5 separate regions of the Homo sapiens genome follow, and all the other regions are linked to region 4. The links are contacts of gene promoters, found by promoter capture Hi-C in blood cells and fetal thymus (Javierre and others, 2016). All regions are on one chromosome and are shown on one strand. The core of a region is centred on a gene start or on the middle of the fragment in contact, and the rest is flanking DNA. Distances in the headings are between cores, read along the strand shown. Region 1 has its middle 6.3 kb from the start of EIF1. Region 2 has its middle 5.6 kb from the start of KRT19. Region 3 has its middle 12 kb from the start of KRT17. Region 4 holds the start of KRT10 (keratin 10). Region 5 has its middle 1.7 kb from the start of LINC00974.

What was found. The method cuts DNA at HindIII sites, captures the fragments that hold promoters and counts their contacts. A CHiCAGO score of 5 or more calls a contact.
Region 1: a contact is called between a fragment that was not itself captured here and the fragment with the promoter of KRT10 in region 4, in 2 of 17 cell types (total CD4 T cells and non-activated CD4 T cells). The highest score is 6.8, in total CD4 T cells.
Region 2: a contact is called between a fragment that was not itself captured here and the fragment with the promoter of KRT10 in region 4, in 1 of 17 cell types (erythroblasts). The highest score is 5.3, in erythroblasts.
Region 3: a contact is called between a fragment that was not itself captured here and the fragment with the promoter of KRT10 in region 4, in 1 of 17 cell types (M0 macrophages). The highest score is 5.5, in M0 macrophages.
Region 5: a contact is called between a fragment that was not itself captured here and the fragment with the promoter of KRT10 in region 4, in 4 of 17 cell types (M2 macrophages, erythroblasts, M0 macrophages and 1 more). The highest score is 10.4, in M2 macrophages.

What each region holds. Positions count from the first base shown.
Region 1 is chr17:41,693,801-41,696,500 of GRCh38, reverse strand. No RefSeq gene overlaps it. Among named protein-coding and RNA genes, the nearest start is that of EIF1, 6.3 kb to the right of the region's middle. The HindIII fragment of the contact is 4,888 bases long and covers 1-2,700 here.
Region 2 is chr17:41,532,560-41,535,259 of GRCh38, reverse strand. No RefSeq gene overlaps it. Among named protein-coding and RNA genes, the nearest start is that of KRT19, 5.6 kb to the right of the region's middle. The HindIII fragment of the contact is 1,193 bases long and covers 703-1,895 here.
Region 3 is chr17:41,635,527-41,638,226 of GRCh38, reverse strand. It overlaps the pseudogene KRT42P. Among named protein-coding and RNA genes, the nearest start is that of KRT17, 12 kb to the right of the region's middle. The HindIII fragment of the contact is 742 bases long and covers 1,076-1,817 here.
Region 4 is chr17:40,821,226-40,823,925 of GRCh38, reverse strand. It overlaps KRT10 (keratin 10), which reads left to right and starts at 1,312. Exons shown (of 8, transcript NM_000421.5): 1 at 1,312-1,967. The coding sequence starts at 1,341. All of the region lies in intron 1 of KRT10-AS1 (KRT10 antisense RNA 1), which reads right to left. The HindIII fragment of the contact is 8,212 bases long and covers 1-2,700 here.
Region 5 is chr17:41,554,853-41,557,552 of GRCh38, reverse strand. No RefSeq gene overlaps it. Among named protein-coding and RNA genes, the nearest start is that of LINC00974, 1.7 kb to the right of the region's middle. The HindIII fragment of the contact is 4,431 bases long and covers 1-2,700 here.

The DNA.
Region 1 (2,700 bases), core at 201-2,700, 870 kb before region 4:
TGGACGAGAAGTCGTAGCTGGACACAGAGCCTTAGGATCAGGAACACTGAAGACAAACAAAGCCATGATATAGGGTGAGACCACCAAGGGAGAGGGAAGGACAGTCAGGACAATCCCTTGGGAACGCTTGCATTTAGAGAGTGGAAGAAATGAGAGGCTTGAGCAGGAGGGGGCAACAAGGGTGCATGGTGCCTAGCAGGAGACCCCACTGCACTCCAGCCTGGGAAACAGAGTGAGACTCTGTCCCCCCACCAAAAAAAAAGTTAAAAATTGGTCAAGGAGCTCTTAATTGAAAAATTGTAAAGCCTTGTGCACAGTAAACTGTGTTTTTACACTACTGCCACAAGGGGGCACCATCGAGGCTGATAAACCAGGAAGGGGGTCATGTTCAGTTCTCCAAATATGCTATGTGTTTTTCTGGCTTATTCATAGAGTTGACAGCAATTGGAATAGGTTCTAAAGTTGTTTTGTAGCTTCTTATGCAGTTTTAGCTGACCAGTTTTCATTTTGTCTTCATAACACCATCTTAAGAAACACTCAGTTTGTCCTTGCGTGTAGCTGTTGCAGCGTGTGGGGATGGGGGCAGGAGGGCTGGGGGGGTTTGGGGTGGGAGAGGAGGACTAAGGAGCAGAGAGCTGAGGGACCTTTTCAGCATAATCAATCTTTCTTTTTTTTGTTGTTGTTTTTGTTTTTGAGACGCAGTCTCGCTCTGTTGCCCAGGCTGGAGTGCAGTGGCACGATCTCGCCCGCCACCACGCCCAGCTAATTTTTGTATTTTTAGTAGAAATGGGATTTCGCCATGTTGACCAGGCTGGCCTCGAACTCCTGACCTCAAGTGATCTGCTGGCCTTGGCCTCCCTAAGTGCTGGGATTACAGGCGTGAGCCACTGCGCCGGCTTCCAGGTGCCTTTTCACCTCTGGGTGTGACTCTTTTTCTCTGCTCGAAATGCTTGGCTTCAGACAGCACCTCCTTTATGAAGCCTTCTTGGCCCCCTTGGCTGAGGATGGGAGTGGGGAAGATTTCGCAGTCCTCAGAGATCCTGTGGCTCTTTGGGTCCCTTTCTGTCCTGCGTCAAGGCTGTGTGCTGGTCTTACATCTACCTACCAGGCAGTCAGCTCCCTGAGTGCAGGGGGTCTGCCTGACATGCCCTGTAGTGTACTACAGATACCAAGCACTCAACAATCTCTGTAAGATGAGCATTTATTTATTTATTTCTGCTCCCACTCCACCGGGAAAATGAGTTACAGAAATTGTGAATGTACAGGTGCAGCTGGTGGGAGGAGGGGTACACAGGGAGTCCTGGGTTCTAGATGAGGCTCCACAACTTACCTTGGGAATGTCCACATCACATTGTTTTCTTTTTTTGAGACAGTGTCTATCTCTGTCACCCAGGTTGGAGTGCAGTGGTGCCATCTTGGCGCACTGCGACCTCTGCCTCCTGGGCTCAAGCCATTTTCCCACCTTGGCCTCCCCAGTAGCTGGGAGCATAGGCATGCAACACCACGCCTGGCTAATTTTTGTATTTTTTGTAGAGACAGGGTTTAGTCATGTTGCCCAGGCTGGTCTCGAAGTCCTGGACTCAAGCAATCTGCCTGCCTTGGTCTCTCAAAGTGCTGGGATTACAGGCATGAGCCACCATAACCAGCCATCATGCCTTCTTTTTTTTTTTTGGAGACGGAGTCTCGCTCTGTTGCCCAGGCTGGAGTGCAGTGGCGCAATCTTGGCTCACTGCAACCTCTGCCTCCTGGGTTCAAGCGATTGTCCTGCCTCAGCCTCCCACCTGGGACTACAGGCGCACGCCGCCATGCCCGGCTAATTTTTTGTATTTTAGTAGAGACAGGGTTTCACCGTTGTTGCCCAGGCTGGTCTCGAACTCCTGAGCTCAGGCAATCCGCCTGTCTTGGCCTCCCAAAGTGCTAGGATTACAGATGTGAGCCACCGCGCCCGGCCCATCATGACTTTTTAATTATACTTTTCTTCATTCAGCCTGAGATAGGTTACATCAGGTGGATAAGGGTGTTCACCAACTTCCTCAGTTCTGTGTTCACAGATACTTGTTTCGCTTGGCTTCACAGAGCTGATTTAATAGATGTTGATGGTTTAACTTGGAATAATCCCATCCTAGAGAATTGGAGGTCCTTAAAAAGCATGAGATGGAACAGCCTAGCACAGAACCTGGCCGTGTTCACAACCTACAGCATAGAAGGAATTCTCTTCTCTTGCTGTTTCATCCTGATTGTAGTATTTTGTGTGTTTGGCCTCCCGCCTTGCTCTAGAAGTTCCTCCAAGAAAAAACCTCCTACATTACAGTCAAATCTTACTGATTTAAAAGTCTCACCCAGCCAGGCACGGTGCTCATGCCTGTAATCCCAGCACTTTGGGAGGCTGAGGCAGGCGGATCACAAGGTCAAGGAGATCGGGACCATCCTGGCCAACATGGTGAAACCCTGTCTCTACTAAAAATACAAAAATTAGCCAGTCGTGGTGGCACGTGCCTGTAGTCCCAGCTACTCGGGAGGCTGAGGCAGGAGAATCGCTCGAACCTGGGAGGCAGAAACTGTAGTGAGGCGAGACCGTGCCATTGCACTCCAGTCTGGGCAACAGAGCAAGACTCCATCTCAAAAAAAAAAAAAATTCACTCAAATATTTTGAACAATGCCACTGTATTTGGAGCCTTGGTTGGCTCCAAGGCTAAATTA
Region 2 (2,700 bases), core at 50-2,549, 710 kb before region 4:
ACTGGGTCAATAGCTCTAGCCTGATGGCCCACATGGTGGCTCCCACTCCAGCACCCCCTAAAGATCTTCCAGTTATTTCAGAAAGTCCCCAGGGGAATGCCTCGCATGTGCCCACAAGGTGGCTGCTGTCTTGCATAGAATACCCTCTGCTCTGCCACCAGCTGTAGCCCCACAGATCCACGCCACCACCTGGGAGAGCCTTGTTGTCTGTTGTGAGAACACCCAGGGGGGCCAACTTCAGATGCTTCCAGACGATGGATCCTTGGAGAACCAGAGTGGGAGGGCTTTCCTCAGGTGTAAGTCATCGGCTGCAAGGAGCTCTCCCTGTACTCAGACTCTTCCAAAGTTCTTCTTGTCCGTTTTGCCTTCTTGTTTCATAAAGAAGTAAAACTAGCCTGGCGGACCCAGGGGTGGGGGCACGAGGATGGAAACCCTTTCCAGGGTCTCTTTTCTCCTCACATCTAGTTCTCCCTCTTCCAAAACTTCCTCTCTCATTTCTCAATTCAAGGCTAGGGTTGGTGTGGATGAGCAGAGACAATGATGTCAGTGGTGAGTGCAGGGAGGGGAAGAGGGTATTGACTATATGAAATTTGGCTAGTTCTAAATGTCTGTGGTTTAGTGTTACTTAAGAAATTATTTACTTTAATTAACAAGAAATACTAAATACATTCTTATAAAACTTAAAACCATAGAGATTAAGCTTAGGTTCCTATTGGCTACCATCCTTCAATCAGATTCCTTCCTTACCTATGCATATATTCATACATATTCATATGGACCTTAGCAATAAGTCATCTTTTGAATGTATGTTGACATGAATTTATCATATTAAGTGTGTTGCTCTCCAACTAGATTTACTGTACCCAACAACTAGTTTTTTTTTTTTTTTCTTTTGAGATGGAGTTTCACTCTTGTCACCCAGGCTGGAGTGTAATGGCTCGATCTCAGCTCACTGCAAGCTCTGCCTCCCGGGTTCAAGCAATTCTCCTGCCTTAGCCTCCCGAGTAGCTGAGATTACAGGCACCCGCCGCCACGACTGGCTAATTTTTGTACTTTTAGTGGAGACGGGGTTTCACCATGTTGGCCAGGGTGGTCTCGAACTCCTGACCTCAGGTGATCCACCCACCTTGGCCTCCCAAAGTGCTGGGATTACAGGCGTGAGCCACCATGTCCGGCCCAATAACTAGTTCTTTAGGGTTTTCAGTGTCACTATTCATTGTCATTACTCATTCCATTTAATTTCTAGTCCTCCACAGCAGGATGTTACATAGTTACTGAACGCCTCCCCGCCATTAGTGATTGTTTGTGTCTTTGCACTGTAGCAAACAATGCTGCATAGGGCATCCTTTTATATGACTTCCTCAATACACGGGCCAGGGTTTCTTTCGGATGAACACGAAGAGTGGAACTGATGGCTCAAGAAGTGCATGAATGTTAAAAAAAATGATGACATTGTCAAATCGCTCTGCAAAGTGGTTACTACAACCCACCTCCCACCAATGTGTTTGAGGAGGTTCATTTACTCATGGCTTCTCTACACTTGACATCATCAAACGTTGTGAGCAGGCCAGTCTAATCAGGAAAAGTAAATCTCCTGTCTTCTCCTGAATTGGGGAGAGGTGGTCCCCTGGCTGCCTTAGTTGGGTAGGGGTCTGGGAGGGGGCCTGGTACTGTTGACAGAAACTTCCAGCCAGCCCTGCTTACGGTCCCTCTTCCACTTTTCCTCTCCATGTCTGTGGTGCCCCAATTCTTGAGCTTCTTTAGAGTATGTTGAGAATGTGCTTGCCTCTCACGGGCTTCCTGCTCTCTCCTCTGTTGACCCCTTCCTAATCCCCCAAACCCTGGGTCTCAGCTTTCTCTCATCTTCTGTGTTACCATTTTTGAGCTTTAAAGCTTTTGTTGACATTTCTCATCTTTGACCCTCCCTCCTTCCTTTCCTCCTTCCCTCCTTCTTTCCCTCCCCTCCTCCTTCCCTCCCTTCCTCCCTCCCTCCCTCCCTCCCTCCCTCCCTTCCTTCCTTCCTTCCTTCCTTTCTTCCTCCCTTCCAGCTGGGTCTTACTCTGTCACCCAGGCTGGAGTGCAGTGACGCAATCTTGGCTCACTACAGCCTCCACCTCCCAAGCTCAGGTGATCCTCTCACCCCAGCGTCCTGTGTAGCTGGTACTACAGGTGCACACAACCATGCCCAGCTAATTGTTTGCATTTTTGGTAGAGACAGGAGTTCGCCATGTTCCCTAGGCCAGTCTCAAACTCTTGAGCTCAAGCAGTCTGCCCGCCTCGGCCTTCCAAAGCGCTGGGATTACAGGCGTGTGCCACTGTGCCTCACCTCTTCTTCCATTCTCTTAAAATACTCCTTAACTGTCATATCATAGCAGGGTTTTAGGAAGGAGTCAAAATTGATGTAGCTATTGAACCTACCACATTTCACCAAAGCTAATACACTTCTATACACCCCCCTACCAGATTGTCAGCCTCTTAGAGGCAGGAAATATTTGTATTTACTTCTGTGCCCCAGCCCCTGGCAGCATGCGTAGCACAGAAGCTGCGCTTGATGCATGTTCACTGAATGAATGGAGGAGCGGGTGAGGAAGTTCCTTGTGCTGGTGGTCCCTGGGGAAGCGGAGGCCGTTCAGGTAAGGAGCTACTAATTGACAGGACATGCAAGCTCATGAAGTTTTCCACACATTTACCTTTCCTCTC
Region 3 (2,700 bases), core at 197-2,696, 810 kb before region 4:
AATGAGGGTCTCTGGGGTTCTCTCCTCATCAGCGAAGCCAAGGTCTCAGCTGGGAGCCCGTTCTGGGCTCCAGGGCCTCTCACTTTCCCTGACCACCTGATACTGACCCTTTTCCTTGAGGGGAAGGGTAGGTGGCCATGTCCCTTTCCTGGGACCTTGTCTCCTCCCCAGTCACTGCTCAGGCTCCATGACCCTAACAATTCAGCAAGCACTCACAGAGCACCTGCTGCATACAGCCCGCGCTGGTTCTGGGCAGGGGTGTGGGGTATGGGGTGGGCACCATCCTAAGGGTTGACAGTTAATCCTTGCGGGGGCTCGTAGGAGCCAAGGCCAGCTGGGCAGACGGGGCATGACCTTGTCTTTTTGTTTTTTCTTTTGTTTTTTTGAGATGGAGCCTCGCTCTGTTGCCCAGGCTGGAGGGCTGTGGGACGATCTCAGCTCACTGCAACCTCCACCTCCCGGGTTCAAGCGATTCTCCTGCCTCAGCCTCCTGACTACCTGGGATTACAGGTACTACCACGCCTGGCTTATTTTTGTATTTTCAGTAGAGTCGGGGTTTCACCATGTTGGCCAGGCTGGTCTCAAATTCCTGACCTCAAGTGATCTGCCTGCCTCGGCCTCCCAAAGTGTTGGGATTACAGGTGTGAGCCACTGATCCTGTCCAGACCTTGTCAACCTTGTCAATATCAATATGCATCTATTGGCTGGGCGTGGTGACTCACTCCTATAATCCCAGCACTTTGGGAGGCAGAGGCAGGAGGACTGCTTGAGCCCAGGAGCCTGAGACCAGCCTGGGTAATATAGTGAGACCCCATCTCTATTTAAAGTAAAAAAAAATGCATCTATTGAACATCTCCTTTCCATAGGGCCCCAGATCATTCTACGCCCTCTGCCTCCCCACAACATAGTAGGGGTGATATTAGGGGACACTGTCCCCAAACCCTAGCTCTGCTCAAATTCCAGGCAGGTCCTGTCTGTGCTGCGCTCTCCAGCATGCTGGCTTTTCTGCACTCTCTGCAGAGGAGACTGAGGGGGAGTCAAGGTGGGGCTGGCACCCAGGGCACTGGGGGAAGCTTCAAGTTCTCCCAGCCACCTCCCTGGGCCTCCCCCTCTCCCACCTGCGCTGGGCTCCAGCAGCCTCTGGGGCTGGAAGAGCCATTGGACCTCTCCTTCTTTACCCCTTTGTCTTCCATGGGGGCCAAGCTGCTGCCGCTGCCGGGGCTGCAGGCCTGGGCTGCCCCTTGCGGGTGCCAGGGATCTCTCCCTGCTGGGGGTGGAGGACAGGCCCAGACAGGATGTGCCACAGCCCAGAGGACCTCTGTGTGGCCCTCCAGCCGGCCCCTGTCAAGCCTTCCTCCCTGGCTGGGAGAGTGGGAGCTGCCGAGGCCCTGGCTTCAGGCCCGGCTCTGATGCCAACATTGGGTTGCCCGACTGCCCGCTGCTCAAGCACCCTGTGTCTTGGTGTCCTCAAGGCACTGTTGTGAGGGTCTCAGGAGGAATGTTTGCATTTTCCTAGCCCTGGCCAGGGAGTGGCCCCACGCTCTGGAGGGCCAGGGAGGCCTTCCTGGGGTCCCACTTCTATCTCTGCTGAGATCTGAGCTGTGCCCTCCTGCCCGGCTGGCCCAGCTGGCCCGGCCTGTCCTCAGCATGTGAGGCTTCTCTGGGTTGGGGGCTAGAGGGGGATTCACAGGCAGTAGAGCCTCTAACGAGCAGTAGCAAAGGGGCCTGGGGGGGGGGTCAGTGGCGTGGGGAAACTGAGGCCCAGAGAGGAAGAGGAGCAGGCTCGCGGCCCAAAGCCTGTCAGGGGTGAGGAAGCTTGTGGGGGCTAAATGGTGGTATTGGGGGTTGGAGGCCTTGGTGATTTTAGAGGCAGAAAGAAGAGTAATAAACTCTCTGCTCCTTCAAATTGGGCCTCAAGACTAAGGTCTGGGTACTCTGGAAGTGGGGTTCCCAGGCAGGGTGAGCACTGGCGGTGTGGGCTCTACGGGGAGGCAGAGGGGTGGTGGCACCCCACGACCTGGCCCCCTCCCTAGGGCCCTGGCTTTGCCCCACATTTGCTGCTGGAAGGCGGGGCAGTCCCTTTTGTGAGCCCAGAGTGAGGCCCACCTGGGTAGCCCAGCTGGCCTAGGGGAGGATGGGGCCTGGGAAGGGAGGGGTTGTTAGGAGAGGATGGGGATGGGGAGGGTCTTGGTTTCGTGTCTCTTCGTGTGTGAGTGCCTGCTGGTGCAGTCTTGACTCTGGCGGCTCAGGTGAGCACGGGTTTTACTGGGTCTCTCTCCTCCCCGAAGACAGTCCTGGATTGCCAGGAAGTCCTTCCAGATGTCTAACCTCGTGCTCATGGTGGTCTGACCTTGCTCTCTAGCCTTGGTTTTGAACCTCCCCCCATCCCCGCCCAGCACCTTCACAGGCTGGGCGGGAGCAGTAAAATCAGGGCTCAACCGCTCTCTTCCAGATAGCTCCTGCCATTCCCAGCTGGCACAGTCCCCAGCTGGCACTTTCCGTGAGAGACCACCCACTATCTGAGCAGGAAGTCTTTCCAGCAGTGTGGTCTCATCTGGGAGCTCTGGGCCACATGGAAAACCCAACTCCCTCCCTGTCCCCGTATGCGGGCAGAGAGCCCAGGCCACCCATGCACTTCTCTCCCCTCTCCTGTTCCGCGGGCCCTGGCTGCCCTGGGAAGCTCCACATTCAGACAGGCCT
Region 4 (2,700 bases), core at 63-2,562:
TCCAGCCTGGGCGACAGAGCAAGCCTCCGTCTAAAAAAAAAAAAAGAAAGAAAGAAAGAAAGAAAGAAAAGAAATAATAATAACCACCATTCCTATCTCAACAGCTTGTTCTAGAAATTTTTAAAGCACAGTATCACAAACAGCACTACATAATTGTAAAACATGTATGAATATATACATCCAAACAACAGCAATGTCATAGCCTATGGGTAGATATAATCTTATACAATGTACCAAAATCCCAATTTACTTCACTAGACAAACTGTTATACCAAATTCTGTACACAGTATATCCAAGAAAATGTGTTGTTTTTATTGAGAAACTGAACCTAGCTTGGGAACACATGTGCACAGTCTAGTTCATAATATTTGGTGCAAGTATCATTCTCTAATATAGATTTACATTTTTGCAAGCAAATTTTTACTTGCAATCATAACATATCCAAATTTTCCCTTTTTACTCAATCAGAACTTAGTGTAAAGTACTACAAGTTAGTTCTTCGGATTTCATGCTAAGAAAATAATGCAGATTTTCTGCATTATTATGGTCTTCACAGAAACCTTAACTATGATGAATTTAAAAGTGCAAAATAATCCAGGATAACTTTATGATTTCAGATTTTTTAATGTTAAAAATAATGCCATCATTAATTAGAAAATTCTAAAATCATTACTTCCACTTTCTTAGGCAAAATATCAATATACTCTCATTTGCCAAATAAATTAAAAGATCTCCTACAAACACAATCTCCTAAATTGTGGTTTTATGGCTTTAATGTTTTATGTGTGGCAACTATTGATGCTAGTTAAATTTTTAGAAACTTTTTCTTTTTGATTCCCTACAGTTGTCTACAAGAACCTTATTGTAGCATGATCCTGCCAGACTTTATGCTATTTGTTGCTCCAATTAAAACTGTTTAAAACATGAATTTGAAAAATCTTATTTTAACTATAATTTTGTAGCTGAAACTTTTTTTTCTAAACTTTGCAAACATTCTATGCAACCTGAATTAGTGCTGAGAAAAATGGATCTTAACGGTTGCTCAATGTTCTTCAACAGGTGAAAAGCATAATAAAACATGCTCATCTGAACTCCACCCATTTTCAATTTCAACATAGCAAACCTCCTGTTTATTCTTAGGGCAAATTCAAAATTGTACATATTAGGATTGGTTATTACTGAAGATAATTTATGCAATCATAAGCCAAAGATGCTAAGTTGGCAAAAAGAAAACAATGTAAGTAAGCAAACTCTAACACATGTGGACACACCCTCTCAGTATATAAAGGCTTGTCACTGTCCTTGGTAGCAGGCACTCCCTGGGCTAAACAGCATCACCATGTCTGTTCGATACAGCTCAAGCAAGCACTACTCTTCCTCCCGCAGTGGAGGAGGAGGAGGAGGAGGAGGATGTGGAGGAGGAGGAGGAGTGTCATCCCTAAGAATTTCTAGCAGCAAAGGCTCCCTTGGTGGAGGATTTAGCTCAGGGGGGTTCAGTGGTGGCTCTTTTAGCCGTGGGAGCTCTGGTGGGGGCTGCTTTGGGGGCTCATCAGGTGGCTATGGAGGATTAGGAGGTTTTGGTGGAGGTAGCTTTCGTGGAAGCTATGGAAGTAGCAGCTTTGGTGGGAGTTATGGAGGCATCTTTGGAGGGGGCAGTTTCGGAGGTGGCAGCTTTGGTGGGGGCAGCTTTGGTGGAGGCGGCTTTGGTGGAGGCGGCTTTGGAGGAGGCTTTGGTGGTGGATTTGGAGGAGATGGTGGCCTTCTCTCTGGAAATGAAAAAGTAACCATGCAGAATCTGAATGACCGCCTGGCTTCCTACTTGGACAAAGTTCGGGCTCTGGAAGAATCAAACTATGAGCTGGAAGGCAAAATCAAGGAGTGGTATGAAAAGCATGGCAACTCACATCAGGGGGAGCCTCGTGACTACAGCAAATACTACAAAACCATCGATGACCTTAAAAATCAGGTAAGAGGTATTTTTAAATCCAGCTTTAAGTATCTTGTCCATGTAATCCAGACAGATGAATCTTAAATTAAGCACAATGTGGCTGTTCACTATGCTTACCCATGTTACTTTCTTCCTTCAAAAATAACCCAGTCTCATCAAAGATAAACATCTGTGAAACTATGGTCATGGCAATCTTCATCCAGCAAGTGTGCTACTTGTCTTAAGAGGATGGGAGATTTACTAAGCACTTTTGAGGTTTTAATGAGCATACAATGAGTCCACAGTTAAAATATGCTAGGCTATTTACAAATGTAGAAACTGAAAAAAAAAATCATGATATGAATCAGAACAAAATGTTATTCAGACTGATAACAAGCCATATTCAGTACCAACATGGCAAGAAAAATAAATTTTCCAGTATGAAAATGGGACACTGCTTGCCTCTAAGGAATTTCTGAATTGTACCTATTGTGTACCAGTTCAGAGTGTATTTATTTATTAGTATTTATCATGAGTTAAACAAATGCAGGTGTGAGTCAGCCAAAGCATGGCTGAAATACATGGAAATCACATAGTCTAAAAGAGGAGGGCACACTTACAGGAATACATCTATATAATTCCAGTTAGTTTTCAGAAAGGAATAATTCGTGTACAGAAATACAAGACTGGAGAAATTCCAAGAGAACAAATAATTCAAAGTTAAGTATATGGGTAAGCCTGCAATATTTCATATTTAAAATAAAAAATTTTC
Region 5 (2,700 bases), core at 142-2,641, 730 kb before region 4:
AATGACTTTGCGATGGAATAGTTGCCCTGACGCCCTTCATGGGCGGGAACTGGAGCACTTTGTTTTTTGTTTTTGTTTTGTTTTTTTTTGAGACTGAGTCTCGCCCTGTTGCCCAGGCTGGAGTGCAGTGGTGAGATTTCAGGTCACTGCAACCTCCGTCTCCCGGGTTCAAGTGATTCTCCTGCCTCAGCCTCCCGAGTCGCTGGGATTACAGGCACGGGCCACCAAGCCCGTCTAATTTTGTATTTTTAGTAGAGATGGGGTTTCTTATGTTGGGATTACAGGCACACACCATCACGCCCAGCTAAGGAGCACTTTGTTTCACTCAGCCTGTTGCTGGCCACTCCTTGTGGGAGTGAGTGTGTGAGCAAGTGTGGGAACCGGAGCAAATGAACGCTGGAACCAGCCGGTTGCTCCTCTCTGGCAGGAGCAGGCTCTGTTCGGGCCCTGCAGCAGCGTCCCTATTCTTTCAGCTGTGCTGTCAGGGGATGGCCAAATACCAACCAGTTCAATGGAGGTTCAGGGTGGCAGCCCCTGCCTTCTTGGCACCCAGGTTCTTGTCTGGCGTCCAGGAAGAAGAATCAGGTCACATAAACTGTTTGAAAGGTGACGAATGCAAAATACTTTACTGGGTGTTGGGTGGCTCTCAGTGGAAAGGGAGGATGGAAAGGTGATGGGATGGTGATCTTTCCCTGAAGCCCCACCGTCTCCGGCAGGGCCCCTCTCCAAAGCTGCACCATCTGAAGTTAGCCAGATCTATCCACAGTCTCCGATGCTCAGTTGCTTTTCTGCTCGCCGCTCAGCTGCTTATATCCTCAGTGCTCAGCCGCTTGTGTTGCTCTGCCAGCTGAAGTCTTTTATGGGCACAGCATGTGGGCAGGCAGGCCAAAAAGGTAACATTTTTGGGGAAAATGGGGTCCTTTAGGGCCGAGGTTCCAGGCTTAAGGGTAGGGTTTAGCCAGGAGCCCAGCCCTTCTGTATCAACTTGACGGAGTGAGGGAGGCAGTCAAGCGTGTGTGGGGACCACTCCAGGCACAGCAGCTAGTGCTGATGATCATCCTAACACACAGTGCCTTGAGCAGAGGAGTGACAGGCCACTTGATGAGAGGCTGCGAGGCTAGGAGCAGAAACAGAGAGCCCAGTGTGCAGGGAGGTGAAGAGCCCCTGGCACTCAGAGTGAAGACGGTCAGAGGTGGCTGGATTCTGAGCATCATCTGAAGAAAGCACTGCCAGGAGTTCTTGAAGGACTGCATATTGTAAAAGAAAGAAGTCAAGGAGGTCTCTGAGTCTTTTGTCTGAGCAACTGGATGATAGGAGTTGTGGGATGGAAGTTGGCTGGTATGAAAGATGGGGAGTCAGTTTCAGACATGCTAAATTTACATTGTCTTTTGGACACCCAAACGGAGATCTTTTAGAAGTCTCATGCCAGTAATCACACTTGTTACTAAATTCTGTAGCCATCAGGGTTTTTGCCTGCAAAGATCAGAAGCCACACTCTGAAGCCAGTTTGTTAAAGGATGTTAGGTAAGCCATAGACTCTCCAGGAAGAACTCGCAGGGAACAGGTTTGAAGGCAGCACAGCCCGGAGCAAGCCCACCCTTGCCACTATCTGCAGGTGCAGATTCAGTAGCCCATTCCACTTGGCGCTATCACCAAACTTGTGGCGCTGCTGCTTCTAGAAACTGGAGGTCTGCAGTTATTCCTTCCAGCATGGATTCCACCAGGTGCCTCCTTTTTTAGGACATTAGCTCCCAGCTTACAGGCTTCTGTGATGTGTGTGACTGATCATGTGTCTGTGCTCCAGCTGCAAGGGAGGCTGGAAGGCTAATTTCTGGCTTCTATAGCCAGGAGGCACAGACACTAGAGGGAGAATTCCTTTACAAAGGAGCTGGGCGACTAAGTGTAAGAACAATTGTCCACAAGGAAGGAGCAAGGACTAACACTGATTGCGCACTTAATAATGTTCCAGGCACTTCGCTAAGCATTTTATATAAGATAAGGGAATAAACCCTGTATCTAATCTTCACAGCAATCTCATGATGCTGTCCTTGTTTTCATTTTACACATGAGGAAACATTTTTAGCGAGATTAAATGACTTGCTGAAAAGGTCACACAGCTCCTAAGCAGTGGAGACAGGAACTGAATCTAGGAAGTCTGATCCAAGGACACTGGGATTATGAAGCCCATTTTATAGATGAGGAAATTCTAAGTTAGAGAGGTTAAGTAACTTGTCCAAGGTCACATAGCTTGTAAATGATCAAGCAAAGATATAATTCCAGTTTGGCCTGGCTCCAAAGCTGGTGCTCTGTTTCCTGTTCTCTATGGCCTTGAGCAATTATTGAGCCCCAAAAGAATACAGAGGCTAGCAAATCCCATAAGCAGAGGCTTGTCAAAAATACCTTATGTGGGCTGGGTGTGGCGGCTCATGTCTGTATTCCCAGCACTTTGAGAGGCTGAGGTAGGAGGATCACTTGAAGCCAGAAATTTGAGATCAGCCTGGGCAACAGAGCAAGACCCCGCATCTACCAAAAAAAGAAAAAAATATTGGACAGGCATGGTGGCATGCACCTGTTGTCCTAATTACTGGGTTACTTGGGAGGCTGAGGTGGGAGGATCACTTGAGCCCAGAAGTTTGAGGCTGCTGTGAACCATGATCATACCACTGTACTCCAGCCAGGGCAACAGAATGAGACTGTCTC